Linked DNA regions of Homo sapiens: region 1 is linked to region 2. Evidence: promoter capture Hi-C in human tissues and cell types (Jung and others, 2019). All regions are on one chromosome and are shown on one strand. Each heading gives the region's core, a stretch centred on a gene start or on the middle of the fragment in contact. The rest is flanking DNA. Distances are from core to core; before and after follow the strand shown. Region 1 overlaps MPRIP (myosin phosphatase Rho interacting protein). Region 2 holds the start of MED9 (mediator complex subunit 9).

Evidence for each region. The method cuts DNA at HindIII sites, captures the fragments that hold promoters and counts their contacts. A contact is called where the count stands out against the background at its distance.
Region 1: a contact is called between a fragment that was not itself captured here and the fragment with the promoter of MED9 in region 2, in 1 of the 25 tissues and cell types used here (dorsolateral prefrontal cortex).

What each region holds. Positions count from the first base shown.
Region 1 is chr17:17,085,982-17,090,785 of GRCh38, reverse strand. The region is part of intron 3 of MPRIP (myosin phosphatase Rho interacting protein); the gene reads right to left. Among named protein-coding and RNA genes, the nearest start is that of MPRIP, 46 kb to the right of the region's middle. RefSeq lists an enhancer at 2,516-3,017. The HindIII fragment of the contact is 4,974 bases long and covers 1-4,709 here.
Region 2 is chr17:17,474,809-17,479,515 of GRCh38, reverse strand. It overlaps MED9 (mediator complex subunit 9), which reads right to left and starts at 2,516. Exons shown (of 2, transcript NM_018019.3): 1 at 2,251-2,516. The coding sequence starts at 2,474. RefSeq lists an enhancer at 2,413-2,512. The HindIII fragment of the contact is 13,264 bases long and covers 1-4,707 here.

The DNA of each region.
Region 1 (4,804 bases), core at 973-3,472, 390 kb after region 2:
CCCCCAGATCGCCCAGAAAAACCCTGATTTTGGGCAAGTTACTGCTCTCCTCATGCGACCATTTTCAGGATTAAATGCAAACACAGTGAGGACGCTAGCACTGTGGTTTGTGTGTGATTTCTTTTTACCTCTACACTGATCACAGACGCTTGCTGGTTCCAAAAACTGTACTCAGTGTCCAGAGGAAGTGAGCCTTGGACTTTTGCCCCAAGACAGCCACTGCACCCTGCAGACAGACGGCCAACACCACTGATGAACCCCAACACCACTGCTTCTCAGCTGGGCCCTGGGCATCACAAAGCATTCCCCAGCCACCAGGTGCAACCCTGGTGGGCTCAGAGGAAGACAATGACTCACTGCTTATTAGACTTTGTGGAGCAGCCCATCTACCACCCTTCCATCGAGGCAGAGGAACAGACAGAAGCCCAAAAGCAAGCATTAGCTACATGAGGACAGGGGACGGGTTGGGGCCGTAAGACCCTTCTGCCCCTGCGGGACAAGCCTGCCTTAGTGCGGCTGGTTGGAGGTAGGTCACAGCTGGGACTGCACAGTCCTTCAGAGCCTTGTGGCTCCAGGGAGTCTCTCTCCTCCTCCACCTGCTCTGTCCCTGTTCCTTCACCTTCGTGCCCCAAGGTCTTGGTCTGCAACACCATGCCTGTCTGCACCTCACACGTGAGAAACACAAAACCAGTCTCACCAACAAGACGACCCTGCTCAAGGACAAGGAGTCTTTTCCGTCTCCCCACCTCCCCCTGGGGTTGAATCAGTGAACAGGAGGCCAGGCGTCGTGTCTGCTGCGCTCTACACATTGAGGGGCTCAGCTTCCACGCTGACTTGAGTCAGGGAAACCTTCAAAGCTCTGCAGTGCCAGGCTCCACACTGCCCCAACCGGAGCAAAAGCCACTTCTCCATCGCCCCCAACTGAGGACGGGGCTGGCTCTTCCAGGTCCTTTCCAGCAATGACATTCCCTGATCCTGCTTCACACTGAAAACACAAATGCTCTGGAAGTGGGGTGATGCTGATACCTAGGTGGTGACTATGTCATCCATCAGGGCAGTCTCTGGTGGCCCCATCTTCCTTTCCCCGTTTCTCACGCCTACACCTCACACCTAGCAGCACCCCCACAAGTCCTACTTAGCCCTGCTGAACTCCCCAGAGCTCAACACCGGAGCATCTGTAATCCCAGATACTCGAAAGGCTCAGGTAGGAAGATCACTTGGGCCCAGGAGCTCAAGGCTGCAGTGAGCTATGACTGCGCCACTGCACTCCAGGATAGGTGACAAAAAAAAACCCAATCTCTAAAAAATAAAAAATGAAAGAAAAAGTCATCCAGATTCTGATCTAAGAGGGAGGCAGAGGAAAATGTGACAAAGAGGATAAGGAAATGTGATGACAGGAGCAAGAGACTGTAGTGGTGACAGGAAGAGGCCACGAGCCAAGGAAGGCAGGTGGCCACTGGAGCCTGCAAACAGTGGAGAGGGGATTCTCCCCCGGGACCTCAGAAGGAAGCTGCCCTGCTCACATCTGGACCTTAGCTAAGTGGTACTCATTTTGGACTCTCAACCTCCAGAGCCATCAGAGAACAAAGATGTGTTGTTTTAAGCCACTAAGTTTGTGGCAACTTGTTACAGTGGCCACAGGAAACAAACACACCTGCCATGTTGTGTGCTGTGACTGGCACCTCCCACAAAGGAAGCCACCCTGGAGTTCGATTCTGACACACTGAGGGCAGGTGTTTGCAAGTGACTGGTCCGTGCCTGTGTGTGGGCTGGACCAGCCCTCAGGCCAGTACATGGCATAAGGTGAAGGACACCTCCTTCCTAAGGTCCCTGTGCTGCTGACCTGCATCTCTGAGATCCCACCAGTGCAACTGCTCCCCGGGTTCAGAGAGTTTTCCCCACCATAAAGAACATTTCCTTCCCGGCCAAAGAAAAGATTTTTCTGAAAAACAGTCTTGCAGAGGCCAGGAGAGGCTAAGACACTAACATACTACATTGCCTGCCAGAAGTGGTGCCCTACGTGGATCAGCTCATCAGACTGTTTTTGGACATGATATATTTTCCAGGAATGCCCCAGGCAAAAGACATGGCCAGGCAGGTGGGGATCTCAGCAGGGGGCAGAGCAAGGGAAGCCTAAAAGGTGAGAGTGGAAGGGATGTGCCCCTGGGGGACTTTGCAGTCTGGCTCCATGCTGCCAGCCCTGTTTGTGCAAGTGTGTGAGCACTGCACAAACACGTGAAGACACTAGCACCAGCCATGTGGCTTTGCTTTTTCAACCCTAAATATTTTCTGTTGCACCTCCCATGAAATGACTTTTTTTGACACTTCTTTCCCCGCTCTTACTTAATTAGTTTCCTAACCAACTATTCCAAGCTTTTCACTTTCTTAATATCTAAAGTCATTTCTCTCTGTGTGGGAGGGAGACGCCCAGTACGTTATCACGAGCCTTCACGCTGCAGGGTACCGTCACAGCTGCTGCAGAGAAGTCCACCCACAGCTCTGAAGATAGACCAGCAAGGGTGCCAATCACAGCCCATCTTCCTGGCTGCCTCCCCAGTGCGGGGTGTGGGCCACAGAAACCCCTTTACCCTCACGACAGCTCTCGCCGCTCCCATCACCTTCCATCACTGAAAGAGCTGTGCACATGGCAAAAGTCTGAACAGAGAGCACCTAAGTGGATAACCAGGTGGAACCCCTCTTCAGCCCCTTGATAATCAATTGTGGGTGGCCAGCAGTCACTCCACTCAGGCAACACAGGGAAGGCAGAGAGAGAATGTGGGTATCTCATTATAGCCCTGAACACAGGCTGGCAGCTAATTCCCATTTTGTGTCCTTGACTCACCACTTATGTAACAGGAAGGTAAGCGCACGGGACAGTCCTGATGAGACAGAAAGGCACTCACTGGGCACCTGAGGTCACCAAATCCTCTCAGTGCGGCCTGAGATTCAAAGAAGGGGGACTTTTGGGAGTGGCCTACCTGAAATCTTTACATCAGAAACTCAAGCAAGAAAGAGCTGGGGAGGACAGCTGCCTGATTCGCCAGCCAACCAACATGTGCCCTGTCTACGCAGGCAGACACCAGTGCTGCCTAGAGGCGCTCACCGTCCTGTAGAGGGAGATCCTCGTGGAAGTTAAGGGCAAGGTGCTCCGCATGCTCTGACAGGTGTCCTCGGGTTAGGAACACAGGGAGGACTCGCGTCTGGCCAGGGCCAACCTGTGTCTTCTCTTGGCTCTCCAGAATGACCCAGGGTGACCTGCAGAGCCCTCTCAGTACCTGCAGAGGTCCCTTCCTCTGATCCTCTTTGCCTGCTCACTCTGGCACGTTCTGCTCCAACTTCTTCCCTCTACAGGGCTCAGCCATCCACGTATGACTCCAACACTGGAGGTACAGAACATCTAATACTGGAGGCACAGAACATTCAAACTGCCCCACACACTTCCCTCTCCCTCTTTCCTTCCCTGAAGGGCAACTCCCAGGCTCTAAGTCGGGACAGGAGATCCAGGGACCCGGCTGCTTGTCCACATCTGTGGTTCAGTCACTCCCTCCCCCTCCCCCTAGCTAAGCTTCCTCACTACAAAATGGAAGGTCTGGATCAGGTCACAGTGGGAACCCCCAACTGTCACCCTCAGGAGTTGGCTGTTTTTGGTCCACACAGTCCCATGATTAACCTTTGCTGGCTTCCATTCCCTGATTCTTTCAGTGTGGGAAATGTCACTTGGGCCTCTGGGCAGAGGTGCAAACAACAAGAAAGCTCCCAAAGGCAGAACCTGCCCCTGCCTAACAGTTCCGGGTCCAAGAGACTTATAAGACTGGGTCCCAAGCCCTTCCCGGACCTGTCATTAGCTCTTCTCCCCCAACCTCCCAACTATGACAAAAGGAAGGGAGGGGGCTTAAAGCTCAGCCTCCAGTTTCCAGAGAACATCCATCTTGAAGCTCCCACGGAGGTACAGAGAATGCTCCGACCTCTACGTGCTCCACTCAAATGGGTGAACTTTCATGAGTCACCGTAAATTACACTTCAGGGAAAAAAAGTGGGTGTCACTTGTCAGCAAACAGCTCTGAGCTTCCCTTATGACCCCTACCCTCTACTTTCACAGCACTTAGGAAGCGTTTCCATCCTACCTGGGTTCACCTGCACCCAGACCTGGCTCACTCACCTTTAGTGTTTCAAAATAACTTAAATCTGGCCACAGATGCTCTAAGGCAAAGTGGCCTACAGGAAGCTCAGTCGAGCAGGGCCCTCCCTGCCCCACTTATTATCCCACCAACTCCCTGCTGCTGAAAAGAGCATCGCACAGACTCCACCGCACTGGTTCAGACCTCATCTTCCAGCCAAGAATCTACCTTCCTTCATTAAGGAATTCATTGTTACAAATAGGCAACATCTCAATTGTCATGACCAAATCAAGACGGGATGGGGACTCATCTAAGGCTCTGTGTCCTGAAAAGTCAAGTCGGGTGGAGGGCAGGGGTAAAAAATCCTCAACACCCTGGAAGAACCTTCTCAACACCCTTGGCTTGTCTTCAATTTCTGGAATCTCGTGGCCATGCCAGCCCTGAAAGCCAATGGACTGTGCTCCGGACCCAGCCGCTTCTCCTTGTGAACACAAGCCTCCGTGTGCCTGAGAGTTCACCTATAAACATGGGCACTGCTCATTCACCAGTCACCACTGGCAAAGAGCTTGAAGACATTGACTACTTTGGGAAATCTTTAAAAAATAAATTTATTCATTTGGAAAAATTATCAAATGATTGCACAAGAAGAGGTGCCTTTCCTGAACAGGTCTGTGATCTGGGCCTCT
Region 2 (4,707 bases), core at 1,267-3,766:
TCCCTTCTCTGTCCTTTTAGATGGAACAGAGACAAGCACATGTGATCAACCCACTATGTTTCACAGGTACACTCCTGAGTACATCTCCCAACAATCCTATGACATAAGCATTCCCATTTCACAAGAGAAAAACAGGCTCAGAGAAGCTAAGCTACTTGCCAAGGTCACCCAGTCAGCACATTATAGAGCTATGACATAATCTGAACCTCTCTTTTGAGGTCCACTATGGACATATTAGAGATAAGAAGATTATGGCCTAGAAAGGTTAGGCATTTATATCAAGATTAGAAGGCAAGAAAATGTCAGTACACAGATTTGAACACAGGGCTGTCTAACTTCAAAGCCTGTTCTCTCTAGTATAACTTACTACTACATCTTTTAAGGCCAACCCAACCCAGCTGCTCTACCAGGGCTCAAGAATATACTCTTGGGGAGTTCAAGAGCTGTCCTTGTGAATGTGTACATTTTGTGTTTTCATTTTTCCACATTTTTCTTAAAACCAGTAAACTAGGGTTAATCAGAATAAACCCTTTATAATCCAGCACTGCCCTAGGATTACAGGGGCTCCATATGTATTTCTGTCTATGATCATTATCACAGGCTCACGAAAACTGAATAGGCTGCCTTATCCTATAAGCATTACTTTTTTTTTTTTTTTGAGGCAGAGTCTTGCTCTTGTTGCCCAGGCTGGAGTGCAATGGCATGATCTCGGCTCACTGCAACCTCCACCTCCCGGGTTCAAGTGATTCTCCTGCCTCAGCCTCCTGAGTAGCTGGGATTACAGGCAGCCGCCACCACACCCGGCTAATTTTTGTGTTTTTAGTAGAGATGGGGTTTTGCCATGTCGACGAGGCTGGTCTCAAACTCTGACCTCGTGATCCGCCCGCCTTGGCCTCCCAAAGTGCTGGGATTACAGGCATGAGACACCATGCCTGGCCCCTATAAACAGTATTTAAACACCAAGTGAAACCAAATGAAGCCAGGGTCTAATGTGAGAACAAAGCCTTTGTAGTTATTTGAAAAGTGGCAGAAGAGCATCAGGTCATCCCACAGCAAGTGAATCTAATTTGCTTAAACTCAAAAGTGGGTGGGCCACTAACAGTCAAGACCTTCACGTTGTAACAATTCCATTTCAGTAAAACAGTGAAGAGCACATTCATGTTCACCTGAATGTTACTGGAATCGTAATTTTCTTTTAATTTACTTTGTTTTGGTCTTTAATGGTTGAGTAAGAGTTACAAGCCTAGGGGTTTACACCTAGTATCACGTGGATATACAGTGAAGTAACATAATGAAAATAATTTACAGCCTGGGCAACATGGTGAAACTCCATCTCTACAAAAAATACAAAAATTCGCTGGGTGCCATGGCTCATGCCTGTGGTTCCGGTTACTTGGGAGGATGAGGTGGGAGGATGGCTTGAGGCCAGGAGGTTGAGGCTGCAGTGAGCCGAGATCACGCCACTGTACTCCAGTCTGGGTGACAGAGCGAGACCCTCTCTCAAAAAAAATAATAATTTAGGCAAACATAAGGATCAGTGAGACTTTTGTGTTTTTGTTTTTGGTTTTTCCTCTACAGAGTCACTTTGAAAACTCAGGCTACCCTGAAGGCTGGCCAAAAGGATGACAACAATTATTTCCTTTGGTACTGTTAGAACAAAGTCAGTACAAGTGGGTCTAATCATCTGAGGCAACTTCTGTGTTTCTGCTTAGTCTAATGTTTCCCATCGCCACCACTCCCGTCTCAATCTTTTTGAATTGTGGGTTATTCCCAATCATGTCTTTTTTTCCTTCTATCTAAACCTTTGGGGGTGAAAAGTTGGCCCCTTTTACTGCGTCCATCCCGTAGCACTTGGCACAGGGAAGATGATGCTTATCTGTTGAGTTTGCTGAACTAAGGAACTAAAGTGAGTATTACCAACATTAAAGGTGAGAAAACTGAGGCTTAAAGAGATTTAATTTGCTCAAGATCGCTGGGATGAACATTTGAGCCGCTGGACAAGAGTCTGCATTTAGTCTCTAAGCTGGCTTCATTCTTAAGGATATCGCACCTCTCGAGGCTCAAATCGTTTGCTTAACTCATGGAATGTCTCTGTGGTCTTGGGAAAGGCCTCTTCCCGCTCTGGGTCTGAGTTTCCCCATCTGTGAAACGGGGGCGTGCCCCAGAGCGCCAAGGCCTCTTGCAGCTCTGAAACGGCTGAGAGGAGAAGCTGGAGGGAGTATGGGGCCTGGTCCTCTCCTAGGTTCTTACCATTTGATGATGTTGTGAACCAAAGGTAAAAAGGAGTAGTTCTCTTCCTCCCTCGCGCGGGCAGGTGACTGAGGCCGTGGCGCCGGCGACTGCTGCGGTTGAGGCGCAGGGACCGGCGGCGGCTGAGGAGGCGGCAGCGGCTTGGTGTCAGGCAGCGGCTGGTCGGACGTTGGCGGCAATACATCCTCCGCCTGTCGCCCGGCTGCCACCCCAGCAGAGGCCATGGCTCCGGGGGTAGGTTAGCCAGAGGTCGGGTCGCCAAAAGCGTCGCGCACTCTACACGTCACCACCGCGCGCCCTGCAGGGGCGGGGTGTGGAGGAAGGCTCTGAGCGTGCGCACTGGGCAGTCGGCGGGAAAAGGCGCGGAGGCGGGGGTGGGGAGGCTGTTGCTAGGCAACGGGCCGTGGGTGGGTCTGGGGTGCCTGGATTTGGATTGTGAGTCAAGATTGCTAAATTATTAAATAGTGAGAAATAGGGGTTTATTTCAGAAATAACAATCTTTTTTTTTTTTTTGAGACGGAATTTCGCTCTTGTTGCCCAGGCTGGAGTGCAGTGGCGCGATCTCGGCTCACCGCAACCTCCGCCTCCCGGGTTCAAGCGATTCTCCTGCCTCAGCCTCCCTAGTAGCTGGGATTACAGGCATGCACCACCACGCCCGGCTAATTTTATATTTTTAGTAGAGACGGGGTTTCTCCATGTTGATCAGGCTGGTCTCGAACTCCCCACCTCAGGTGATCCGCCCGTCTCGGCCTCCCAAAGTGCTGGGATTACAGGCGTGAGCCACTGCACCCGGCCAGAAATAACAATCTTCTTATTCCTATTCACACGATGAAGAGGGCCCCAAAGCCACAAACACAGGAAGCCTTGAGATTAGTAAGGTGCAGCCTGGCCCAGTGCACCCAAGTCTGGAGAGGAGCCACTGGACCTGTGGGAGGCGTAGACAGCACTTACCTGCTGGGTGAGGCACCAAACCCGGCCCAGCCCACAGTGCAAGACATCGAGACCTCGAGTTTAGCCCTAAGGACGCAGAGGCAAAGGGATTGCGGTCCCTTCAATGCTGCAAGGTTGCTTAGAAAGAGTCTAATAATTCAACTCAACACACATTTAGTATGCACCTGCTGGATGGCCACCTGTATGTGTGGTTGCAGGCAGGCTGTCCTTGCTTTCAGTACAAGGTAGAGGGGATTGGTGCCAGGAGTAAATATCATATCCTGGAAGAACGACAAGGTCAGGTACTCTCCATACCTTCGGGCCAGTTCCCCAAGCCCCTAGGTCCCAGTTTCCTCACCCCTAAAATCATATTTAGTTCAGATTCATGGCACAGCCTAAACTGCATTCTAACTTCACATGCGTGGCTGACCCCAAAAGGTCTTGTTGGCATGAGGACTCCCTAGGATCATAGGCCAAAGATGGGTTTATGGTTATGCTTCTCAAAACAAGTTTGATATGAGGGCTGTGTAGTAATTTTCCGGGCAATGGGGACACCCACCCCAAGCTTAGCTAGTGAGTAGAAGACATGAGTGGGGAAAGCTGTCAACTGGTGAGCCCATTCTGCTGTAATCCACCATCATGGGCAGTACAGAGAGGCGAGGAGGTCCACATCCACATAGCATGATGAACAGGAGCCTTAAGAGCAAGGTGGCCAGGGAAAGGATCAATGCTGATATTTTCAGGCACATTGGGAGGGCTGTGCGGAGGCAGATCCTTGGGGAGTAGGACCATAGATGGAAGTGCTGTTGGAGGGTGCGCTGTACAGGTTCTGTAGTAAAGGGCCTCAGCACAGCTCTCTGCAGCAAGAGCTGCCCACGGTGCCCCAGAGAGAGAGCAAAGGGAGGGAGTGGGTTGCGGAGTTTTCTTCCTTCTAACCATTGACCTCTCCAACTAAGGGAAAGTTCAAGAGTTCTGGTTGAGCATGGAGGAGAAAAAGGCCAGATGTGCTTGAAGAGACTGTATACCCTTGGAGTCATCTGGGGAAAGATGATATAGTAATAGTAATAATAATAGTAATTACCACAACTACCATGGAGTAAAAGTAGATACAGGGAACAGAGTTACAGTCACTGTCTCAATCCACAGACAGAGGTCTAGAAGATGGATGTCAGGATCCCCATTTTCTAGATGAGAAAACCAAGACTTACAATGGTTAAGATCCCAGCCTAAGGGTCAACGCAGTTGCTGATGCCAAGTCTATGATCTTAACCAACACTAAAGAGACTTCGGATCCCTACCAGTTCTGTAACTTTATGATTCAAAATGTTAAAGTGGGTTTGAATTCAGAATTCAAAAACCAATCCAATATTCATCAATAATATCCCCATGGCAATCACACGTCATCTTTGCCCTCCCAGAGTGTTTTATAACTTAATTATGAGCCACAACTATATCATTGTCAGAAAAATGAGGATGCTTCTTAAAAGAAAAAACACTTGAGGTATAAATAGATATGGCTAAAGAAAA